Regions from separate parts of the Homo sapiens genome. Here region 2 is linked to region 1. The links are contacts of gene promoters, found by promoter capture Hi-C in human tissues and cell types (Jung and others, 2019). All regions are on one chromosome and are shown on one strand. Each heading gives the region's core, a stretch centred on a gene start or on the middle of the fragment in contact. The rest is flanking DNA. Distances are from core to core; before and after follow the strand shown. Region 1 holds the start of ALOX15 (arachidonate 15-lipoxygenase). Region 2 overlaps SPNS2-AS1 (SPNS2 antisense RNA 1).

Region 1 (5,085 bases), core at 1,335-3,834:
TTCTCATACACAGTCCACTGGTGGGAGTCTAAATCAGTACAACTTTCTACAGAGGGCAATTGAGCAGTTTCTGCCTAAATTCGATATGCTTTTGGTCCAGAAATTCTATCTCCAGGGTTTTGTTCTACAGAGATACTTTCATACGAGAAATGCTGTATATGCGAGGTTTATTTCTTTCAGCACTTTTTCATAGCTACAAAAGATTACTAATAACCTGTGTCCACTACAAGAGACTAGTAGAATTTATGGCGTTACAGCAAATGGCAGCCTTAGCAAAGAACAAGGAAGCTCTTTATGCATGGATATGGAATGACCTCCTGTTGCACTATGGAAAAACGAGATGCAGAATAAGGCATGCTACAATGTGCAGAAAAAGACAAAGATAGGCGTGTATTTGCTCAGTAATATTAGTGCACAGAAGAGACTGGTAACTGTGATTGCTGGGAGTGGAGCAACTGGGTGGCTTGGGGCCAAGAGGAGGGAGAAACTAGTGAATATCACTTTGTACCTTTTGAATTTTGAATCACATGAATGTACTTCCCAGTAAACAATTAAGCAGGGCCGGACATGATGGCTCATGGCTGTAATCCCAGCACTTGGGGAGGCCGAGGCAGGTGGATCACTTGAGGTCAGGAGTTCAAGACCAGCCTGGCCAACATGGTGAAACCCCATCTCGACTGAAAATACAAAAAGTAGCCGGGCATGTTGGTGGGTGCCTGTAATCCCAGCTACTCTGGAGGCTGAGGCAGGAGAATCGCTTGAACCCGGCAGGTGGAGGTTGCAGTGAGCCGAGATCACACCACTGTACTCTAGCCCGGGCAACAGAGCAAGACTCCATCTCATTAAAAAAAAAAACACCAAAAACAAAAAACAAGCAAACCAGAAAATATGCATCACAGACATATTTTCGTGGACTTCATTTGTGTTACCAGGCTGATTGTAATCCATGCCATGAAGTTTATGTTAGTATTCCCCTTTTGTTTACATTGCCTGATAATTTGTTTCCCTTTGTCTCCCCCAAGGGAAGCATTCATTTATAATGAATTTTTCAGCTCAGTGTGTTTCAGCAAACACTTATTGACACCCACAAACCCTGACACTGTGCCGTCTCCAGGGGAAACAAAAGTGAGAGTCCTGCTGGGTGTGTAGTCCCTGCCTAGGACGGGCTCACATTAGTGGGGGATACACACATACAAATGCTCACACTGCAGTATTAACTGTGCAACAGTAGAAGTGTGCGCAAGGAGAAAAGTGTTAGAAAGGAAAGCTGGGCCGGGCGCCGTGGCTCACACCTGTAATTCCAGCACTTTGGGAGACTGAGGTGGGTGGATCACAAGGTCAGGAGTTCAAGACCAGCGTGGCCAACATGGAGAAACCCCGTCTCTACTAAAAATACAAAAATTATCCAGGCATGGTGGCAGGCGCCTGTAATCCCAGCTACTCGGAAGGCTGAGGCAGAGAATTGCTTGAGCCCGGGAGGCAGAGGTTGCCGTGAGCCGAGATCGTGCCATTGCACTCCACCCTGCATTCCAGGGTGACAGAGTGAGACTCTATATCTCAAAAAAAAAAAAAAAAGGAAAGCTAATTCACTCTGGTGGGGTGGTGGGGGGTGAAAGTACCGGGTAAGACTTTCCTGAGAAACCGGAGGTGAACTAGGGTTTAGAAGCATGAATAGATGAATAGACTAATCCAGGAGCAAGTTCTTTTGAGAGAACAGCAGGTGGGGTTCTGGGGAACACATGGCTCCAGCCCAAAAAGAAACTGGAGACGAATTAGGGTTTAGAAGCATGACCAGACTAACCCAGAAGTGAGTTCTTTGAGAGAACAGCAGGGGCGGCGGGGGGAGGGGGGGTTCCGGGGAACACATGGCTCCAGCACAGGAGATGCCAGGGTGCAGTGGGATGAGAGGTGAGGAGAGCAGGTCAGGTTAGCAAGGGCATTGAATGCCAGAAACATTTGGACTTTTATTCTGCAGGCAACAGGGAGGCAGCGGCTTTTATGCTCAAAAGGAATGAGTCCCAGTGGCTGGCACAGAGAAGGCAAGTGTGCAAAGCTGGTCGAATGAATTCCGTGGCCTGAATGTACCTTCCTCAAATGCCACTGCAAACTGGGTCTCCTCGCCCACTTCACCCTCTCCTGCAATCCAACTTGTGAGGCTTGTGTGTGCGCGCGCGTGTCCTTGCGTGTGTGTGTGTGTGCACGCGTGCGTTTAGATGGAGGTTGGCTTCCCAGCCACCCAGGCTTGGCCCAAAGTCCGTGGTACACACGTGCATAACTCCTACCCCCACCTCGCCTGCCTGCTGTACCAGGCGTTGATTCCCTCTTCCTGCGTGTTTTCGGTCCAAATCCTTTTCTTTTTCTCCCTCCCGTCAAGATAGTGGTTTCCACTCCCTGCTCTCGCCAGGACACCGCCTTTTGGACTGGGGCTGAATTCTGCCCCTTGAAGCTCTGCTCCTTGGAGCTGGGGGCCCCAGCGGTAGGCGGAGTTGATTGGAGACCTGCCACCCACATTCCGACCCCAAGCGACCTCCGAGAGGGCGGGGTCTCAGGCTGGGTTATTTAGCTCGTCCACCCTTCTCCACCAGAAGGAGCGAAACATCTTTGAGCAAGATGGGTCTCTACCGCATCCGCGTGTCCACTGGGGCCTCGCTCTATGCCGGTTCCAACAACCAGGTGCAGCTGTGGCTGGTCGGCCAGCACGGGGAGGCGGCGCTCGGGAAGCGACTGTGGCCCGCACGGGGCAAGGTGAGCTCCCCAGAGCCGGGCGGGGTGGGCTGCGCCCCTGGCTCCGAGTCAGTCAAATACCGGGGAGGACATGCGCCCCCGTTGGCCTCTGGCCGATTCTCTTTGCCAAGGGCCCGCGCATTGGGCTCAAAGCGCGCGGAGGCCACGGGGGTGGGGGGCTTTAGGGCAGTCGGTGGCACACAGTAAGCGCTCAATAAATGTTGCCGCTACCCGATCTCCTTGGAATTGAGGGCATGCTCCTGTGCGCCCCTCATTGCACAAAGCTCCCTTGTCTGGAAACTCAGCAGTCACTGGAGCCGCCGTCGGTCCTCTCGCTTTCTCTATTTTAAAAACCGTTTCAACCGCTAGCGCTGTTGGATCTCTACCTTTCAGGCTTTATCACCTGGGGTGGAGTGGGTGGTGAGAGGGAAGGGATGGGGAGTCAAGACAGGAGAACGCTCTCGATTTCCCGACCCACCTCCCGTCATATCTCATGTCACATCTACCGGGTGTTCTACCCGGTCCTGTTAACTTTTTTTCTTCCGCGAAAGCCCAAATTCCCATCACTGCTCTAGCTCTCTCCCAGATCCCCAAATCCGGATGTCTGTCTCAGGGAACGTCAAAGCAACATGCCCGGATGAGGTCCTCCCCTCTCCCCACCTCCCAGCCCTCTCCTCCTGCCTCCCCCGGTGTCACCCGCGCCTCCTTCCTCTCTTCACCTCCCTCTAAACAAGAATCCGGCGCAGTCAGTTCTAGACCCTGAGCATCTCCCGCGTCCCTGCCCAATATCCGTCCCGCCCCCGACCGCCCGCGTCCTCTTGAACCTGCGGAGCCCTGCTCCCCGCACTCCACGCCCTTGCTCCGAGCTTCCGAGAAAGCGGGGCAAAGGGAGCCAGGAAGAGAGAAAATGCGCACGGAGCAGGTGGCCCCGCGACTCCATGGTGAGGGGACGGGGCACGGAAGGTGGAAAGGCGCGCTCCCTCCTCCCTTTTTTCCTCCCTATGGTGGGCAGTTGGTGACACACAGTAAAGGCTCAATAAATGTTCCCGCTACTCGATCTCCTTGGAATTAAGGGGATGCTCCTGAGCGCCCCTCATTCCACACAGCTCTGGTGCCTGGAAACTGCGGTCGCCGGAGCGGTCGTCGGTCCTCCCGGTTTCTCTATTTTAAAAGCCATTTCAAACCTCCAGCGGCCTCGCCACCTCTGCTGCAGACCTTCCAAGCCCTTCTGAAGCCGGAATGATTTCTCCCTAATTCACTCCCCCTGCTTAACACATTCGAACGGCTCCCGCTTGTTCTCGGGACCAAATCCAAAGCCCCTGGCGCCACCTTCGAGAGCCTCCGGACCTGCTGACCCCCCACACCTGGGCTCTGAGCTCCAGCTCCAAGATGCTGCTCGCCCTCCCTTCCCCGCCGCTCTCTTTCTGCGCGCCTTTCCCCTGCCTTCCCTTTCTGTCACTCTCCCTGGCTGAGCCCTCTCCGCCTCCAGGTCTCCGGGAAGGTTGTCCCCAGGCCGGTGGGGCCCCTGCAGGTCCTCAGCCTCGGGCGGGGTGGGGTGGGGGGTCGCACAGCGGGAATTGCCACCAGCGCGTCCGGGCTCCACAGCGCGCTCGTCCAGGGCGCGGCAGCGCTCAGCCCAGCGCTTGGCACAGTCAGTGACCACAGGGAGGAGAAAGTGAAGGCAGGAGCGCACCTTCCCACCTGCCGTCCCCGTCCCCTCAGAACCGAGTCCTGGGGCCACCTGCTCGGCGCGGTCCCTCTCTCTCTGGCTCAGTCCCCGCACCCCGATACGTCTCCTCCTCTCAGAGGCTCCGAGGAAGGGCGTGGGCGCTGGAGGGAGCAGGGCTCAGCCGGGTGCCCCTCCCGCCAGGCCCCACCGGGGCTGAGCCTCTTCTGTCGCCCGCAGGAGACAGAACTCAAGGTGGAAGTACCGGAGTATCTGGGGCCGCTGCTGTTTGTGAAACTGCGCAAACGGCACCTCCTTAAGGACGACGCCTGGTTCTGCAACTGGATCTCTGTGCAGGGCCCCGGAGCCGGGGACGAGGTCAGGTTCCCTTGTTACCGCTGGGTGGAGGGCAACGGCGTCCTGAGCCTGCCTGAAGGCACCGGTAAGCGCGGGGCTGAGGGTGTCAGGAGGCCTCTGGGCTGTGTGAGAAGCTGGGGGGATGCGCGTGTGGAGAAGAGGGCGCAGGATGGGGGTGCTGGAACCTGGAGCGCCGGGGTCTTTGGGGGTGTCGAAGGGGCGGTGGCTGCAGCTGGCACAAAGTGGCTGGAGCCTGGGGGAGGGGCGTGATGCTGAAGGGGCAGAGGCCACACAGAAGGACGGGGTGCTGAGGCTCTCCTGGCAGAGACAAGAAGAGG
Region 2 (5,085 bases), core at 569-3,068, 150 kb after region 1:
CTGAGAAGCTCTGGCAGTAACCTGGGGCTGTCAGACAGAGGACTGGTAGGGTTCTTTCCTCCATCTCGCCAATGAAGAAACTGAGGCCCAGGGAAAAGAAGTAATTTGCCCAAGGTCGAACACCTGGTAAATGACAGTGCATGGACTAAACCCAGGTGTGTTTACCCTCTAATCCAGCACTTCCTCCACTGCACGCTGCCCTCAGACTGGGCGGGATTCTGTTTCTTCATCAGTATAACAGGAGGCTGAACTCCGTGGCTAAAGGACCTTCTGATATTCATTCATTAGGTCTAGATCACAGCTTCAAAACAAATGGGGGCCGGCGTGGTGGCTCATACCTGTAATGCCAGCACTTTGGGAGGCCGAGGTGGGTGGATCACCTGAGGTCAGGAGTTCGAGACCAGCCTGGCCAACATGGTGAAACCCGGTCTCTACTAAAAATACAAAAATTAGCCAGGCGTGGTGGGGCGCGCCTGTAATCCCAGCTACTTAGGAGGCTGAGGCAGGAGAATTGCTTGAACTTGGGAGGCAGAGGTTGCAGTGAGCCAAGATCATGCCACTGCACTCCAGCCTCGGTGACAGAGTGAGACTCCATCTCAAAAACAAAAACAAAAACAAAAAACAAAAGTGGGGGGAAAAAAAGAAAAGAACACACACAAAAAAGAAAAAAATGGGGCACAGAACATTAATGGCCATTATTCAAAGAGCAGTCATACTTGGGAAGTAGTGGGATAAACACAGAAAAGTAGGTTTCCTTAGGGACTTTTGAGAGCCTTTACTATGAGAATACATGCTCTGAGTCTCCCAGAGGGAGATATAGGATGCCACGTTCCCAGGTGTGTGTGACCACAGAATGTCTTGCAAGACGAGAGCTCTGCAGGACACACTCTGAGAAACACTGGCCTAGAATGCACTTGCTCCTCCTTGGCTGGTAATTGGGAGCTCAGCCCATCTGCCCTCTGCCCATCCTCCCACATGGGAGTGTCTCCAGGGCTCAGGCCTCGGTTGTTTCCCTTCCCCCTTGGCAGCCTCTCACCTAGGCCTGAAATTTACTTTTTTTGAAAAAATTTTTAAGAGGCAGGGTCTCTCTCTGTCACCCAGGCTGGAACGCAGTGGTGCAATCATAGCTCATCATAACTTTGACCTCTTGGGCTCAAGGGATCCTCCTTAAGAAGGGGCTTCCTGATGCTGGGCGCGGTGGCTCATGCCTGTAATCCCAGCACTTTGGGAGGCCAAGGCGAGCAGATCACTTGAGGTCAGGAATTCAAGATCAGCCTAGCCAACATGGAGAAACCCCATCTCTAGTGAAAACACAAAAATTAGCTGGGTGTGGTGGCATGCGCCTGTCATCCCAGCTACTTGGGAGGAGAATTGCTTGAACCCAGGAGGCGGAGGTTGTAGTGAGCCGAGATCACACCACTGCACTCCAGCGTGGGTGACAGAGTGAGACTCTGTCTCAAAACAACAACAACAACAAAAAACAAAAAAACAAAAAACAAAAAAAAGAGAGCCAAGACAGACAGGAGCAAAGACAGAGAAACGGAGACTTTCATATTCCAGCCTGGGTGACAGAGCAAGACTCCATCTCAGGAAGAAAAAAATAATAATAAAAAATAAAAATATATATATAAAAAAGAAGAGTCTTCCTCTCCTGAGGATCCACACCTCAGCTTCCCAAAAGGCTGGGACTATAAGCGTGCACCACCACACCCAGCAATTTTTTTTTTAGGAAAAAGGTCTCACTATGTTGACCAGGCTGGTCTCAAACTCTAGGGCTCAAGTGATCCTCCCACCTCAGCCTACCAAAATGCTGGGGTTAGAGGGGTGAGCACCATGTGCAGCTGTGGCCTCAACTTTCAATGATCATCCATGTGACTATGACACCCCAACCTCCATCTCTAGACAGGGCCTCATCTCCAAACACGAGATCCATATGCAGCCTCCTACACGTGCCCCCCACCAGATATCCCACATGTACCTTAGGCTCAGCACATTTGAAACTGAACTTGTCATCCTTCCCCCAACCTGCTCCCACTCTGGTATCATTTATCTTTTGTCAAAAACACCATCATCCACACTGTCGCCAAGCAGAAAGCCTGGGAGCCATGTGGGGCTCCTTCTCCTCAACAGCCACATCTAAGGGCTTTCAATTTCCTCTCTTGAACATCTCCCCACGTCCACATTGCCCACTGGCTTAGCTCAGGCCTCTCTGTGTCTTACCTGGACCCTTGTAAAGCTCAACATTACCTGTTCCCACATCCCCCTCCAGTTTTGTTTGTTTGTTTTTTGAGACGGAGTCCTGCTCTGTCACCCAGGCTGGAGTGCAATGGCACAATCTCGGCTCACTGCAACCTCTGCCTCCTGGGTTCAAGCAATTCTCCTGCCTCAGCCTCCTGAGTAGCTGGGATTACAGGTGTGCACCACCATGCCCGGCTAATTTTTTTTATTTTTAGTAGAGACGGGGTTTCATCATGTTGGCCAGGCTGGTCTCGAACTCCTGGCCTCAAGTGATCCACCCACCTTGGCATCCCAAAGTGCTGGGATTACAGGCGTGAGCCACTGTGCTCGGCCGGCCCTCCAGTCGTTTCTCCATATTGCTTATCAGTCACTTTCTGAATCCCACAAAGGACCTCATCACTACCTTGAGCAAAACCTTTCTAAGGCTCTTCACTGGCTATAGGGTTAAAAATGTCTACGTTCCTGGCCGGGCGCAGTGACTCACGCCTGTAATCCCAGCACTTCGGGAAGCCGAGGCGGGCGGATCACGAGGTCAGGAGATCGAGACAATCCTGGCTAACATGGTGAAACCCTGTCTCTACTAAAAAATACAAAAAATTAGCTGGGCGTGGTGGTGGGCGCCTGTTGTCCCATCTACTCGGGAGGCTGAGGCAGGAGAATGGCGTGAACCCAGGAGGCGGAGCTTGCAGTGAGCCGAGATCGCGCCACTGCACTCCAGTCTGGGTGACAGAGCGAGACTCTGTTTCAAAAAAAAAAACTACATTCCTTAATGATCTCCAAGAGCCTTCACAACTTTTCACAACCCATGACAATCTCCAGCCTCAGATCCTACGGCCCATCTCTCAAAATTACCCTCTGCCACACTGAACATGGAGCTTCTTGAACTCACAGTTATAATACTTCCTGGAGCCTGGGGGAGGGGCAAGAATTGGGGCACTATTCTATAGCCCCTGTCCTCCTATCAACAAAAAAGCCCTTGTCCCACTAGCACAGCGATGATTCAGGACCATGGAGAGCATCCCGCGTGCAACCCCTGACCCCGACCCTGACTGAGGCATGCTCTGCCTGTGTGGCCTATTCACTCTTCCCACTTGTCCTTCAGGAACCCAGCACAGAAACAGCTTCCTCCGGGAAGCCTTCCCCGGCCCACCTGAACAACCATTTCCTCCTCTGGGCTATTGAGTAACCTGTGTATCCTTCCATCACACCAACACTGTGCTGATTTTTGTCTGTGCAAGAATCTGTCCCCCGCCCTTCACCAACAGACCGTGAGCCTCGAGGGCCCGTACCCTTTCTGATTCATCTCCACGAGCCAGTACAGAGGAGGTGCTCAAAGAATGTTTGTTGATTGAATGAGTAAATGACATTTAGCAGGTGCTCAGGAAATGTACATTGATTTGCATCACGCGTCTGTTGCTCTGAATGACTCAGAAACCAGATTCGTCTCCTGGTTCCTCTGGAAAAGGCATTTTCTTCCTGATTGACTCCACCCTCCATTAGCTTCCACCTGCTGTTTGCCTCCACCCTTTGATTAGCCTTCCCCGCAGGTCACCACCCACGGTGGGGAGAAGGCACCTCCTCTCTGCTCTTGCTGTTGCCAAGCTGAGGACTGGTTGGGGCCCCCGTTCCCTCCCCCAGCCCGAGCCTATCTTTGCTCAGAACGCTTCGTCTCTGCCTCTCTCTCCTGCTCAGAACAGATGGCTCTGAGTCCCCACTAACACAGAAGTTCCTGTTCTGCCATTTGAACATTTTTAACACTTTCTACATTACAGAAGCTTCAGTCTCTTTTCATCATGGATGCAGACTATCAGAAATAAAGACTCCACCGAAGGGCATCGAGTCCAGCCTCTTCCCCATCCCATGGAGAGGCTGCACCTCAGAGATGGCCAGTGGCCTGCCCGAGATATTGTAGTGGATGCTACCTTTGTTTTTGTTTTCTGTCATCTTGTTTTCTTTCTTCTTCTTTTTTTTTTTTTTTCCAAGAAGGAGTTTCACTCTTGTTGCCCGGGCTGGAGCACGATTTCAGCTCACTGCAACCTCCGCCTCCTGAGTTCAAGCGATTCTCCTGCTTCACCCTCCTGAGTAGCTGGGATTACAGGTGCGCACCACCAAGCCCAGCTAATTTTTGTATTTTTAATAGAGACGGGGTTTCTCCATGTTGGCCAGGCTGGTCTTGAACTCCTGACCTCAGGTGATCCACCTACCTTGGCATCCCAAAGTGCTGGGATTACAGGCATGAACCACCGCGCCCAGCCTGTCATCTTGTTTTAATTCCTGTTTTGTTTTGGTGCTGAGACTTCCTTCCTCTTCCTAACGGCACACTGGTCTGCTGGTCTTAATGCGGCTATAAACCAAGGCATGGGTATAGGATCCAAGCTAACCCAACTGGAATCTCTTGCCCAGGGCTTTAAATCTTGAGGAGGGTGGCAAAAGAATAGGGATAAAATATCTGGAGTTCTGGCACAGACCCCAAAATAATATGGCCCAGGAACCCTGGCTCCTGAATCTCCAACCTTCTCATCAATTCTATGAGTTCCTGATGTGCTTTCAATGCATCCTTTGCCTGGTAGAGGTAGTCAGTCTGTTTCCGTTGCATACAACCCCACAACCCAAACTGATATGGTCACACAGGAGCACACGCAGTCACACACCTGTCTGTGCTGAGATAAAGCATGGCTCCCGGAACCTCCAGCTGCCTGCTGCCAGCTTTGTCTGTAGAGGCTGCATTAGATTAAACAACCTCCCAAGCCCACCCAGGCACAAAGCAAAGTCAAACACTTCAGGGAATGAAACAGACCAATATTTGATGTTGCAGAGCAACAAGCCAGGGTTAGGGTGTGGGAATCC

The links. Contacts are between HindIII fragments. The study calls those that stand out against the background at their distance.
Region 2: a contact is called between a fragment that was not itself captured here and the fragment with the promoter of ALOX15 in region 1, in 2 of the 25 tissues and cell types used here (IMR-90 fibroblasts and mesendoderm cells).

What each region holds. Positions count from the first base shown.
Region 1 is chr17:4,639,177-4,644,261 of GRCh38, reverse strand. It overlaps ALOX15 (arachidonate 15-lipoxygenase), which reads left to right and starts at 2,584. Exons shown (of 14, transcript NM_001140.5): 1 at 2,584-2,745; 2 at 4,631-4,832. The coding sequence starts at 2,611. The HindIII fragment of the contact is 22,491 bases long and covers 1-5,085 here.
Region 2 is chr17:4,491,617-4,496,701 of GRCh38, reverse strand. All of the region lies in intron 2 of SPNS2-AS1 (SPNS2 antisense RNA 1), which reads left to right. Among named protein-coding and RNA genes, the nearest start is that of SPNS2-AS1, 4.6 kb to the left of the region's middle. The HindIII fragment of the contact is 5,950 bases long and covers 1-4,793 here.